Linked DNA regions of Homo sapiens: region 2 is linked to region 1. Evidence: promoter capture Hi-C in 16 types of primary human blood cells and fetal thymus (Javierre and others, 2016). All regions are on one chromosome and are shown on one strand. Each heading gives the region's core, a stretch centred on a gene start or on the middle of the fragment in contact. The rest is flanking DNA. Distances are from core to core; before and after follow the strand shown. Region 1 holds the start of FAM114A1 (family with sequence similarity 114 member A1). Region 2 holds the start of PTTG2 (pituitary tumor-transforming 2).

The links. The method cuts DNA at HindIII sites, captures the fragments that hold promoters and counts their contacts. A CHiCAGO score of 5 or more calls a contact.
Region 2: a contact is called between the fragment with the promoter of PTTG2 here and the fragment with the promoter of FAM114A1 in region 1, in 2 of 17 cell types (activated CD4 T cells and total B cells). The highest score is 5.6, in activated CD4 T cells.

Annotation. Positions count from the first base shown.
Region 1 is chr4:38,865,125-38,870,801 of GRCh38, reverse strand. FAM114A1 (family with sequence similarity 114 member A1) reads right to left here and starts at 2,996. Exons shown (of 15, transcript NM_138389.4): 1 at 2,968-2,996; 2 at 2,256-2,404. MIR574 (microRNA 574) reads right to left here and starts at 2,770; the gene lies at 2,675-2,770. It also overlaps a transcript of TLR6 not described here. RefSeq lists an enhancer at 1,862-2,445 and silencers at 2,653-2,702, 2,753-3,232. The HindIII fragment of the contact is 2,847 bases long and covers 1,180-4,026 here.
Region 2 is chr4:37,958,134-37,963,810 of GRCh38, reverse strand. It overlaps PTTG2 (pituitary tumor-transforming 2), which reads right to left and starts at 3,413. Exons shown (of 1, transcript NM_006607.3): 1 at 2,683-3,413. The coding sequence starts at 3,376. The coding sequence ends at 2,801. All of the region lies in intron 2 of TBC1D1 (TBC1 domain family member 1), which reads right to left. The HindIII fragment of the contact is 1,467 bases long and covers 3,119-4,585 here.

The DNA.
Region 1 (5,677 bases), core at 1,747-4,246:
CCACCAGGATTACAGTCATGACAAGCACTGTGTTTCCTGGGACGGTTTCCATCTCCGTCTGGGTGTTCCATAAGCCAGACTTAGAAACCTTTCCTGATTTATGGTTAGGAACACTGATCACTGTAGCCATGTCTCGTGGACTGGAGGCTAGGGAGACTCAACCCACAGAAACAAGGAGGCTGCTTCAGGAAACTCTAAGGAGAGGAAGGGTGGCATATAAAGAAGCCTTTGTGGGCTGGGAATAAGTTAGTTTTTCGTGAGTAAATTCATTCATCACCTAAAATGCTCCCAGAACTATGCAAGGTATTTAAGCAGCAACATCACAGCTCCAAAAATAAGTATAAAACAGAAGACATGGTCACTATCCTTCAGAAATCAATCATCTGTTTGAGGAGCTAACACAAAACAGTTAAAAAGTGATGCAAAACAGCACAGCAAATCAAGGACAGATGTGCCTGAACTAGACTGACCCTGTGCAAGGGAGAATCTTGAAAGTGTCTTTGATGTGGTGATTCAGGCCTGGTGGGATGAGAGCATGTGCAAATGTCCAAGCATCAGCGATGGACTGTAGTGATTCAGGACAGGTGTCTGAGAGGCCAGGACATGAGGCTGCATGGAGGAATGATGAGAGGTGGGAGCGATGGTATTCTGAGGTGGAAAGAGTTGTGTCCTGCAGGCGTCAAGGGATGTGGCCTCTGGTCCCAGTATCCCTTTGTGGGCACACAACTTGATCCTCACTGTGCTTACACCTGCTCCTCTGTAAAGCTAGGATGGACAAACTGATCTGGATGCTTTTTTTTCCAAACTCCACCTGCAGGACTGGGGCAAGTCTGTGATGATAGAGAAAAATGAGGACAAGATTGCAAGTTTTTCATAAATCTAAATTTATTAAATGTAAAGGACTGCCTTCATCTTTCAAGTTTAGCCTTTGTGCTTTTTCTTGGTATTAAAATGTCTTTCATTTTATGAAATAGTGACAGTGGATGGATTTTTTTAAAAAAAATGGCCTGACTTGGCAGCATAAAAATTTGGTTAGCATGATATCCTGTGTGAGGTCATCTCCCCCAGTTAAAAAAAAAAAACAAAAACAGTGCCAGTCAGCGAAGGACCAGGAATAAAAACTCTGGATGAGAGGCTCTTAATCAGGTTGTAGCAGTTTGTATGAGTTTGTATAAAGCTTGACAAGTCTACGTACCCAGGCTCCAGCCTATTCTCTGTGAGGCTGCCAGGCATTTTTGGACCTATTTGCTCTCCTGTTCAAAAACCATTAGGTGTAAATATCTTCACACTTCCCATCATAATCCAGCTCCAATCTCTCTCCACCTCTTGCAACTCTCAGTATCCTCCACTCCTGCCTCACCAGTCTTTTCTCCATTCCCCATAACTCTTCACATCTCCCTGCCTTTGCTTACGCTGGTTCCTCTGCCCCGGTGCTGCCCTTCCTCCAGCTGCCTGGCAAACTCCTATTCCTCTAGACACCCAGTGTCTAATGTTACCTTTCATTCTGAATTTTTCCTTAATCTGCCCCACTGCTTCCAATGAAATAACTGCTACCTCTTCTATGTTTTTGGCACTTTGCACAGATTTCTATTCCATGTATTTATGGAGTATTTACTTCTGCCATTCTGTCCTCCAAGACTGTGACCAACAGCACCTAGGTTGGTTTCTGTCCCTCAGATATTTACTGAATTGAAATACATTGTGTTTGATATTAATAAAAGAGAAACCATGTTTGATGTAAGCCTGGTCAAATAAACAAAGACAAGTTTACTTTTATGGTCTGAATCGCTCAGATTCAAGAAAGCCCCCTCCAACCCTCAAATTCCTTCTGCACTGTCTCACTTGTGCCTCAAATCCATCCCTAACGTCTCATTCCTTCACTTAAAGGTTACAATGTAAGAAGTTTATCAGATTCTTTCCCAAGCTCAGGCTTGATGGAAGAAAGGAGGGCGGGGACGCAGGCCTATGGGTGGGGTAGGGAAGGAGCCACTAGGCTGCAGAGAGGGCAAAAAGAGGCTCTGAGGATAGAGCCTGTCTCATTCTCAGTTGTCACAGGTTGGCTGAGGTCACAGGGAGTTCAGAGCACACTGATTTAAGAAGCCACCTGCCTGTGTCCTTCAAGATGTTTAGGATGGGAAATGATGGGATCAGTAGGGCATAGGTAATGCTCTCACAGCCCATAGAGAGATGTCTTCCTACTTAAGAAAAGGCAGTGACGTTCAGGCGCCTGGTCTGAGGTGCCTGGAAATACTCACCGGATGGCAGAGGCGAGGGCTAGCCGACTGGGTGGAGGGGGCCTGGGGATCTGCGGTAGGGAGTGGGACCCATCCCGGGGGCTGCGAGTGGAGGCGGTGCCTGCTTAGAGTGTTGGCTGGACTGGAAGAGCAGGCAGGGCGTGGGTCGGCTGTTGGGGGAGGAGTAAGGCGAGGGGAGCGGGGAGGTCAAGGCCTGAGCTCCCTGTGCCAAGGCCGAGGGCAGGCGCACCCTGGGACGAGGCCTCTGTCTTACAGGGACCTGCTCCCTTCGTGCCCGGGCTGGGGGACCCTGCAGCCCACCTCTGACTTGGCCCCGAGCCATTGGGGGCACTTTTCCAGACTTGCTTGGTGCCAGGACTGGATACTTTGGGAGATCCAGGCAGGCTCCGCGGAGGTTCACGCAGGCCGAGGGGGCAGACCCTGAGTGTGGGCGTGTGGGTGTGTGCATGAGCGTGGACCCGGAGCGACACACACTCACACACACACACTCACACGCCCGCACCCACGCAGGTCCCTCGGCCGCGCCGCCCCAGACCCTCACCCCAGAGCCGGGTCCTCCCTGACCACTGCTTCTCACTAACGCAGAGGGCAGGATTCGTGGGTCCCGGACGAGGCGCCAAGGTATGGTGTTCCCACCACCCCCGGGCAGCCGCCCCCGCGCTCGCCCGCCCCCCGGGGAAGGGGATGGGGACCGAGTGCCCGGGGCTCTTACCGCTCAGGCGGCCGAGTACGCGCGGGAGTGCCCAGCGGGTCCCGCCCCGCCACGTCTGCAGGGCCGGCGGGGACGCGGCCGGAGGGCGGGCGGCTGGAGAGGGGGCCCCGCCCCGCCTGCGCCCCGCCCCACGAGGAGCGCCGCGGGGACGCCCGGCCACCCCCACGCTGCGAGGGCCGGGCCCGCGCTGGGCGAGTCTCCTGGAAACTTGGCTTGTCCCACCCCTGTGCCAGCGCGGAAAGCCAGAGCGCGCCGCCTCTCCAGCCCAGGGCGGGTGGGTCTCGGGGTTCGCCAGATCCCTTTCCTTTCCTTAAAAGGGCTTGGAAAACCCCCCGCCGTGTCACTGGGAAGAGGTCGCTCAAATTCAGCTAAAGTTTGATCTCCTGATTCTGCGTTAAGCAGCACTCCCTTGCCCTGTCGGTGGGAGTGTGATAGATTTAAAACAAACAAACCCCAAACAAACAACGAAAACCCACTTTCCAGAAGGCCAGTTTGGAGCTGTGGGTTAAAACTCCGATGTATTAGCTTTGGCCTAGGAATTCCACATTTGTGAATTTGTCCTAAGTAGGCAGTCAAATGGGCAAATATGTATGTACAAGGATGTTTGTTGTAGTTGTTTCTGCGGGGGGAAGCCGGAGACAATCTCAATGTCCCCCAGTAAGATTGGTGAAGTAAGCTACAGTAACTTCAGACATCGAATATGTTGTAGCCCTTAAAAATGAGGATTCGTTGACATGGAGGGAAGGCCACATATGAAGGCCTTCCTCAAATATGGCTTAATATGAACTCAGATGCGGAGGAAGCGCAGTGTTTATAGTATTAACTAGTTTTGTAAACAATTTTGTATTTTCTATAAAAGTCGGAGGAAATACAATTTAAAAATAGTGATTCTTTCTGAGCGATGTGTTTAAGGCAGATTTTCTCCTCTCTCACTCCATCCCTTCTTCTTTTTGAAGAATTATAAATTCAAAGTTAAAGAAAAAATAGCCCTAGTCTCTCCCTTTCAATATCACTACCATTTTTTATAGTGTGTGGATCCTACCATAGTTTTTCTAAGCTTATATAAATACATGTATGCATAAACAGCTTTTTGTTTGCTTTTTTATAAAAATGGCGAGATGTTGACGTATTTTGTAAATTTCCCCCTATTTATTATATATTATAATCATCTTTCTTGGTCAATACATATCAACCAAAACCACTCTTCTAAGACTTGTCTTATATATTGCAATATGTTTGTAATTATATTTCATTCAATCATTCTCCTATTGACAATTAGTTTGCTCCTTATATTCCAGTTTCTTCCATATATATATTAATTAATTTATTAATTCATTTTTTTGAGATGGAGTCTTGCTCTGTCGTCCAGGCTGGAAAGCAGTGGCGTGATCTCAGCTCACTGCAGCCTCTGCTTACTGGGTTCAAGCAATTCTCCTGCCTCAGCCTCTTGAGTAGCTGGGATTACAGGTGCGTGCCACCACACCCGGCTAATTTTTGTATTTTTTAGTAGAGACGGGGTTTCACCATGTTGGCCAGGCTGGTCTCGAACTCCTGACCTCAGGTGATCCACCCACCTCGGCCTCCCAAAGTGCTGGGATTACAGGCATGAGCCACCGTGCCTGGCTATATTTCTTATTTAATATTTTTATTAAATATTTTTATATTAATAATTTTTTAAGCTACTGAATATTTATTTTATTTTATTTTTTAGGAGGACAGAGTCTTGATCTGTGGCCTAGGCTGCAGTGCAGTGGCACCATCTCCATCTCCTGGGTTCAAGCGATTCTTCTGCCTCAGCCTCTTGAGTAGCTGGGATTACAGGTGCGTGCCACCACACCCGGCTAATTTTTGTGTTTTCAGTAGAGACAGGGTTTTGCCATGGTGGCAAGGCTGGTCTCGAACTCCTGACCTCAAGTGATCTGCCCACCTCGGCCTCCCAAAGTGTTGGGATTACAGGCGTGAGCCACCACACCCAGCCTGTCATTTTTAAATTCATAGAAAAACCAGAAAGTTATCTTAATGTGAGAGTGGGTGGAAACTGCTTTAAATTGAGATCAATAGCCTTTTTGAATTGAGCGAGACTTTGAACCTTAACTAACACGTGGCTTCTGTAACTCAGTTTTTCCACCTCTAAAATAAAGAGCATTGCTCGGCACAGTCCCTTCCAGTTCTGGCTTTGCGAGTGTTATCAAATTATGTTCCAGTTGCAACAGGTGTGTTTTGGTGTAGCATATACACAGACGTCTGTGCCTGGGACTTCTGCTCCTGCCCAGAGACAGCAAGCACCTTTGCTAACCTGCCTTCCCTTCCCTGCTGTGCCGTAACAGCCCAATCAGATGTTCTCTTTTTAAAGGGCTGAGTTCCTCTTCTCCTTTGACCCAAACCACACCTATCCAATAAAGAAAATAAAGCAAACTATCCTGGCAACAAGTTTGTTTTTTGTTTTGCCCACTGCAAATTTGTCCCTTTTACTCATGTAGCTGCTTCCAGGACTACCAGATTTTATTTCAGATATTTTATTTATTTGCAATGTAAAACATTTTAAGTTCATTTAAAAATTTTCTGGAGTATTTAAAATATATAGAAAAGTAAAGAATAATATGACAAATACTTATTTGTGTAAAAAATATAGGAAATACTATGATGATATCTAGATTTAACAAAATTTTTTGCAGTATTTATTTTAGAATTTTCTTTGCAAAGAAAAAAA
Region 2 (5,677 bases), core at 2,164-4,663, 910 kb after region 1:
TTATTACAGTATTCTTGTTTCTTAGGATCTTAAAAATTATTAAATGTTTTTAAAACATTTAAATAGCATAATATAAGAGACACCCATGTAATTACTACCCAGTCTTAGCAGTTTCAGATATTTTGTACGTAAGTACATAAATGGGTATTTTTTTGACACGGAATCTCACTGTGTCACCCAAGCTGGAGTGCAGTGGCGTGATCTCGGCTCACCGCAACCTTCACCTCCTGGGCTGAAGCGATTCTTGTGCCTCAGCCTCCTCAGTGAGTAGCTGGGGTTACAGGCATGTGCCACCATGCCCGGCTAATTTTTGTATTTTTAGTAGAGATGGGGTTTTACCATGTTGGCCAGGCTGGTTTCGAACTCCTGGCCTCCAGTGGTCCGCCCACCTGGACCTCCCCCCTCCCTCACCCCCCACCTCAACTCTTTCTTGCTCTTGCTCTGCCATGTGAGAGGCCTGCTCCCTCCTTGGCCTTCCGCCATGACTGGAAGCTTTGTGAGGCCTCCCCAGAAGCTGAGCAGATGCCACTGCCATGCCTCCTGTACAGCCTGCAGAACTGTGAGCCAATTAAACCTCTTTTCTTTATAAATTACCCAGTCTCAGGTATTTCTTTATAGCGATGCAAGAATGGCCTAATACTGTACTTTTTGTGAGTCAGTTTAAAAATGAGTGTAAGCTAATAAGTAAATATGCATAGCTTCAACTAAATGATTTTTATGGACTGTAGCAGAGGACCTGGCTTGTATTTTCTTAATGGTTTCATGTCTCATGCCAAGGCCATCATATGCAAAGAGACATCTGAAAAAAAGTTGATGTTTATTGCCAAAGAAGTACTTAAACTGACTGTAATGAAGATGTTAAAGAGCTTCAGAGAAGCTGTATACTATTTCCGTGGGCTGACCACAGACACACTTTAAATCAAAGGCCAGCTGATCATTGGACTTAGGGTGATTTTTAAAACACTTTCTTTTTTTATCCAAGTTTTTATTCAATTCCCTTGACTTATTTCAGTTTAGAATTTGACTTCTTATTATCCTTATAGTAATCCTGAAAAAATTACCAAGAATAAAAAATATCATAACTACTAACATAACTAAGTCCACAGGATATTAGAACTGCAAAGATACCATATAGCTAAACCTCTTTATTTACAGGTGATGAAACTGAAGTCTGAGAGGTTAATTATTCATCCATCTAACAAATATTTATTGAGTTTCTACTCTGATATCATTTAGATCCTTACTATGCTAATAACCATACATAAATATGGCAGTAAACATTTAGAAATTTAAACGTTTAGTGTCTCTATCAACAGCTATAAGAGTAAAATTTTAGATGTTACCGGCTTGCCCAAGGTTGCATATCCATTAAACAGAGGAAGCAGGGTTAAGACCCAGGGAGTCTGACTCCAGTAATACTTCCTGTCTTGCCATGGGATACACCTATGGTTCTTGAATCCAAAATGCAGAAATATGAATCTTACAGGAGAATGAGGCCCTACCATTTACAGAATGTGATGTCTTCCTTTACAGATGAAATTTAGTTCTTCTGGTGAAGAGGACAATGGCTGGGTAGGAGCTTATGCCCACACCTAATGGAAACTTATCCTTGACCTGCGTGGCTACTGGCCCAAGATAAAGATTACTTGGAGCAGCCCACCACAGAATCAGCTCCAAGATATGGGGGAAGTACTTGGACACCATAGTGAACAAAACAGAGATGGTCCCTGCCCTCATGGGGCCCACAGTTTATTTGGGAAGACAGGCAATGTACAAGTAAATTCTCAAATATTTTATGATTTGTCTTGAATTTTTAAACTTAAACCTTCTCCAGTTTTAAAATAGCATGGAAGCAAAAATCAAAATGGAGTGGAGCAGATCACAAAATTGTAACTCTTCTCTAAGGACCAGTATGACAGCCTAGGACTGAGACCTTGCATCTTTTTTGGAGGTCAGTTCTGACAGCATCCTTTGATTGAAGAGGGATTTGGAAACTTTGGCCTGTCATGGCCTTTGATGGTTCTTAAATAGCCACATCTAGTTGGCTTTTTGTGGAATAACATGTTCAGAGACATAACCACCACTCACTTTCAGTAGAAAGAGCAAAACCACTAACATGTATAATGAATAGCAGCTCCTGGCCTAGGAAACTCACTAAGTCTTGGAATTCAGGAACCAGAGAGGAAACCCTGAAGCCTCTCAGGTGATCTGGATTGACACCAGACATCTGTGACTCTATCAAAGCTTTGTACAGAATTCAAGGCATGGACATAAAAGTGCTTTAAGTTGTAAGACATTAGCAGAATAAGATACGGGATTTCATGAACATTATTTAGCCATATAGACATTTTAAGATAATCAGTGTTAGTCCTAGCTGCAAATATGTTCCCTATTTTTTTTTAGCATTCCACAAAATTCTCATTCTTTTAATTATCTCCCTTTGCTGCTAGGACCTCCTTAAGGCTTTCATCTGGTTCACACTAGGCTGGGAAGAAAAGATGTAGAAGTTCTTGGCCTGGCCCTGGCCTTTTCTCCTTTATCCTTTGCTATTTCCTGTCTCCTGTTTCTCTACAGAAGTAAATCATGTTGACATATCCCCAAAGAGTACGGGCTGTAGTATGGAAGAAATATAGAAACAAGGGACAGCTGAGACAGATGCACATAAAGAGGAATATGACCCACTTTATATTTATGTATTTATTATGTTGTTAAACAAATAATGCTTTATTAATACAAGTACACACAAACTCCAAAGCACTAAGAAATTTAAATATCTATGTCATAGCAAACAGCTGGCAATTCAACATCCAGGGTCGACAGAATGCTTGAAGGAGACTGCAAACAGATTGCATTCCCATGGTGGAGAGGGCATTTTCACAGGTGAAGGGGGGCCCAGCTGAAACAGCTTTTCAAGCTCTCCCTCCTCATCAAGGATCATGAGAGGCACTCCACTCAAGGGGAGGTGTGCAATCTGGCGCTCTTCAGGCAGGTCAAAACTCTCAAAGTCTAGAAGATTGAAGGGAAAGAATTTTTCTATTTCTGGATAGGCGTCATCTGAGGCAGGAACAGAACTTTTTGTTTTAACAGTCTTCTCGGTCATCTTTTTGGCAGAAAAGCTTGGCTGTTTTTGTTTTCTGGGTCCATTGGTCTTTACTGACTTTTCTGTAGCTCTGTTGACAGTGCCCAAAGCCTTTCTGGTAGCTTTAGGTAAGGCTGATGGAGCATCGTATGTTTTGCCAAAACGTCGTGTTAAAACTTGAGATATCCCATCTAATGCTTTGATTGAAGGTCTAGACTCCAGCTTCAGCACATCCTTGGCAGCCACACGGGTGCCTGGTTCTCCAATTTCCTTATCAACGTAGATCAGAGTAGCCATTCTGGATTATTGCCGCTCTCAACAGCCACATTCATCTAAGACCGTGGTCCCACTTTATATTTAGATAGAATGTTAACTATAGTGGAAATTGGTGTAATATCTAATTTTTGTGCCTAGCACATCATCTGAGAGTTAGCATGAACTCATATAAAGAGCACAGGCCTGAGGTCAGACAAACCTGGGTAGGAATCTCGGGAGTACCACTTTCTGTTAGCTGTAAGATTTGGGCAAGTTAGCTAACATCCAAGCCCTATTTCCACATCCATAAAATGGAGGTAAAACCCAACTCTTACACATTGTTAAATGGTCAAAAACCACTTAGGTAAAGGGCAGAGCAACCAATAAATAAATAGTTTCTGCCGTTATTGCATTTTCTAATTTATAATGTACTTTTGCATACATTATTTCACTTCTTACTAACCTTTAATAAATGCAAGTCTTCCATTTTTTACTAAAGCAGCACCCCTGAAGTTTCTCTAAACTGCAAAATGCTCAAATGTTTCATCCCGAGTTATCCCTTTTGCCAACTCTGATCTACTGGTGGCAGACAATCCAGCATGCAGTGGTGGGGAGAGCCGAGAGGCCCTCTCTGAGCAACGTGACTACTAATGGTGCTTGCTTGGGCAGGAATACTGGACTATGGCAATGACTATATACCTTTGCCAACCCAACCCCAATCTAGTCCAGGCTATTGATTCACAGCAGCAAAGGGTCACTTCTGTTTCTAAGGCCTAGAGATAAGTTGAGGGCACTTTTGCAGTGAGCCATTTCAATTCAATGATAAATATTCTTGTTGTCTAATTCATTCTATGAATCTTTGACCCAGTGACATATGTGCGTACGTATTTGAGCCCATATGCAAAAATATACAGTTGAGTCTTGAACAATACAGGATTGAGTCGCATGGATCCACTTGTTCTCAGATTTTCTTCTGCGGCTGCCACCTCTGAGACTGCAAGACCAACCCCTCCTCTTCCTCCTCCTCCTCAGCCTATTCAACGTGAAGACAATGAGGGTGAAGACCTGTATGATGATCTATTTCTACTTAATGAATAATGCAATATGTTCTCTTCCTTATGATTTTTCTTAATAACATTTTCTTCAGCTTACTTTATTGTGAGAATACAGGATATAGTGCATAAAACATACGAAATATATGTTAGTCGACTGTGTTATTGGTGAGGTCAACGGAAGACTATCGGTTAAGCTTTTTGGGAGTCAAAGGTTATAGGTGGATTTTCGACTATGCAGGTGATTGGCGCCCCTAACCCTCACATTGTTCAAGGGTCAACTGTGCCTGTTTATTTGCATAAGGCCACCTCAAATACAAAGGGCCATTCAAAGGTATCATTAGAAGTCTTGCTCTTAACCTGACACAGCTAGCTAGAAAGTGACAGAGCCATGACTTGGACCTGGTATATCAACTGATTGATGTAACCTCTATATGGAGCTTGTAAATTCAAGTGCCACCCAGAGTCAGTGAGGGAATGTAAATATATGATGTGCCAGTGGAAGACAATGGGGAACGGGGAGACTGGTGGGGTAGAGTGTGTGTGCCAATCTGCAGGCATTCCAATTGAATTGTTTTTCTTCAAACACTATGGTAGGCAACTTTTACAATAAAGTTTGCAGGCCACCTGTCTGTAATCCTGTCTCATTATACCATTAGCAGGAATTATTATTAAACAACTTCTTTCAACTCTTCCGACACATTCATTTTTTATTAACAGCCTTCTAATAGTACTCTGAATTGGGGCAGAAATAATTAAAGTAAAAGATGTCATATATGTGTCCTAAAGAAGGGACAAATAAAGGAGGTCTAGAGGTGTGAAAGCAAATCTAATCCAGGAACACTTTCTGGAGGAGGTGGCATTTGAGCTAGGAGAGATGGAATGCTTAAGTAAGAGAAGGAGCTAGGAGAGACGGAATGCTTAAGTAAAAGAAGAGGAAATCTCCCCAGGCAAAAGAAACAACAATGAACAAAACAGAGGAAAGCATGGCTACGAGGAAAAATTAACTGTCCCATTTTGCTGGAAAATAGAGTACACCATCTTGGAACAAAAATAAAAAATATGAAGAATCATCTGGGACCAGATATGGTCAAGGTTCTTGATTGCCAAGCTAAGGAATCTGGTGTTTATTGGTTAGAGATGAAAATGGCCTGCTCAGAGAATGGGTTTTCTAGGAGATGAATCTGCTTTGTTGATCTTACAGACTCTTTCTTAATATGAAGCATACTTTTTTCCTAGACAACTTCAAATCTGAAAAATGTGTTACTATTCTTAGCATATGTTTTTGAAA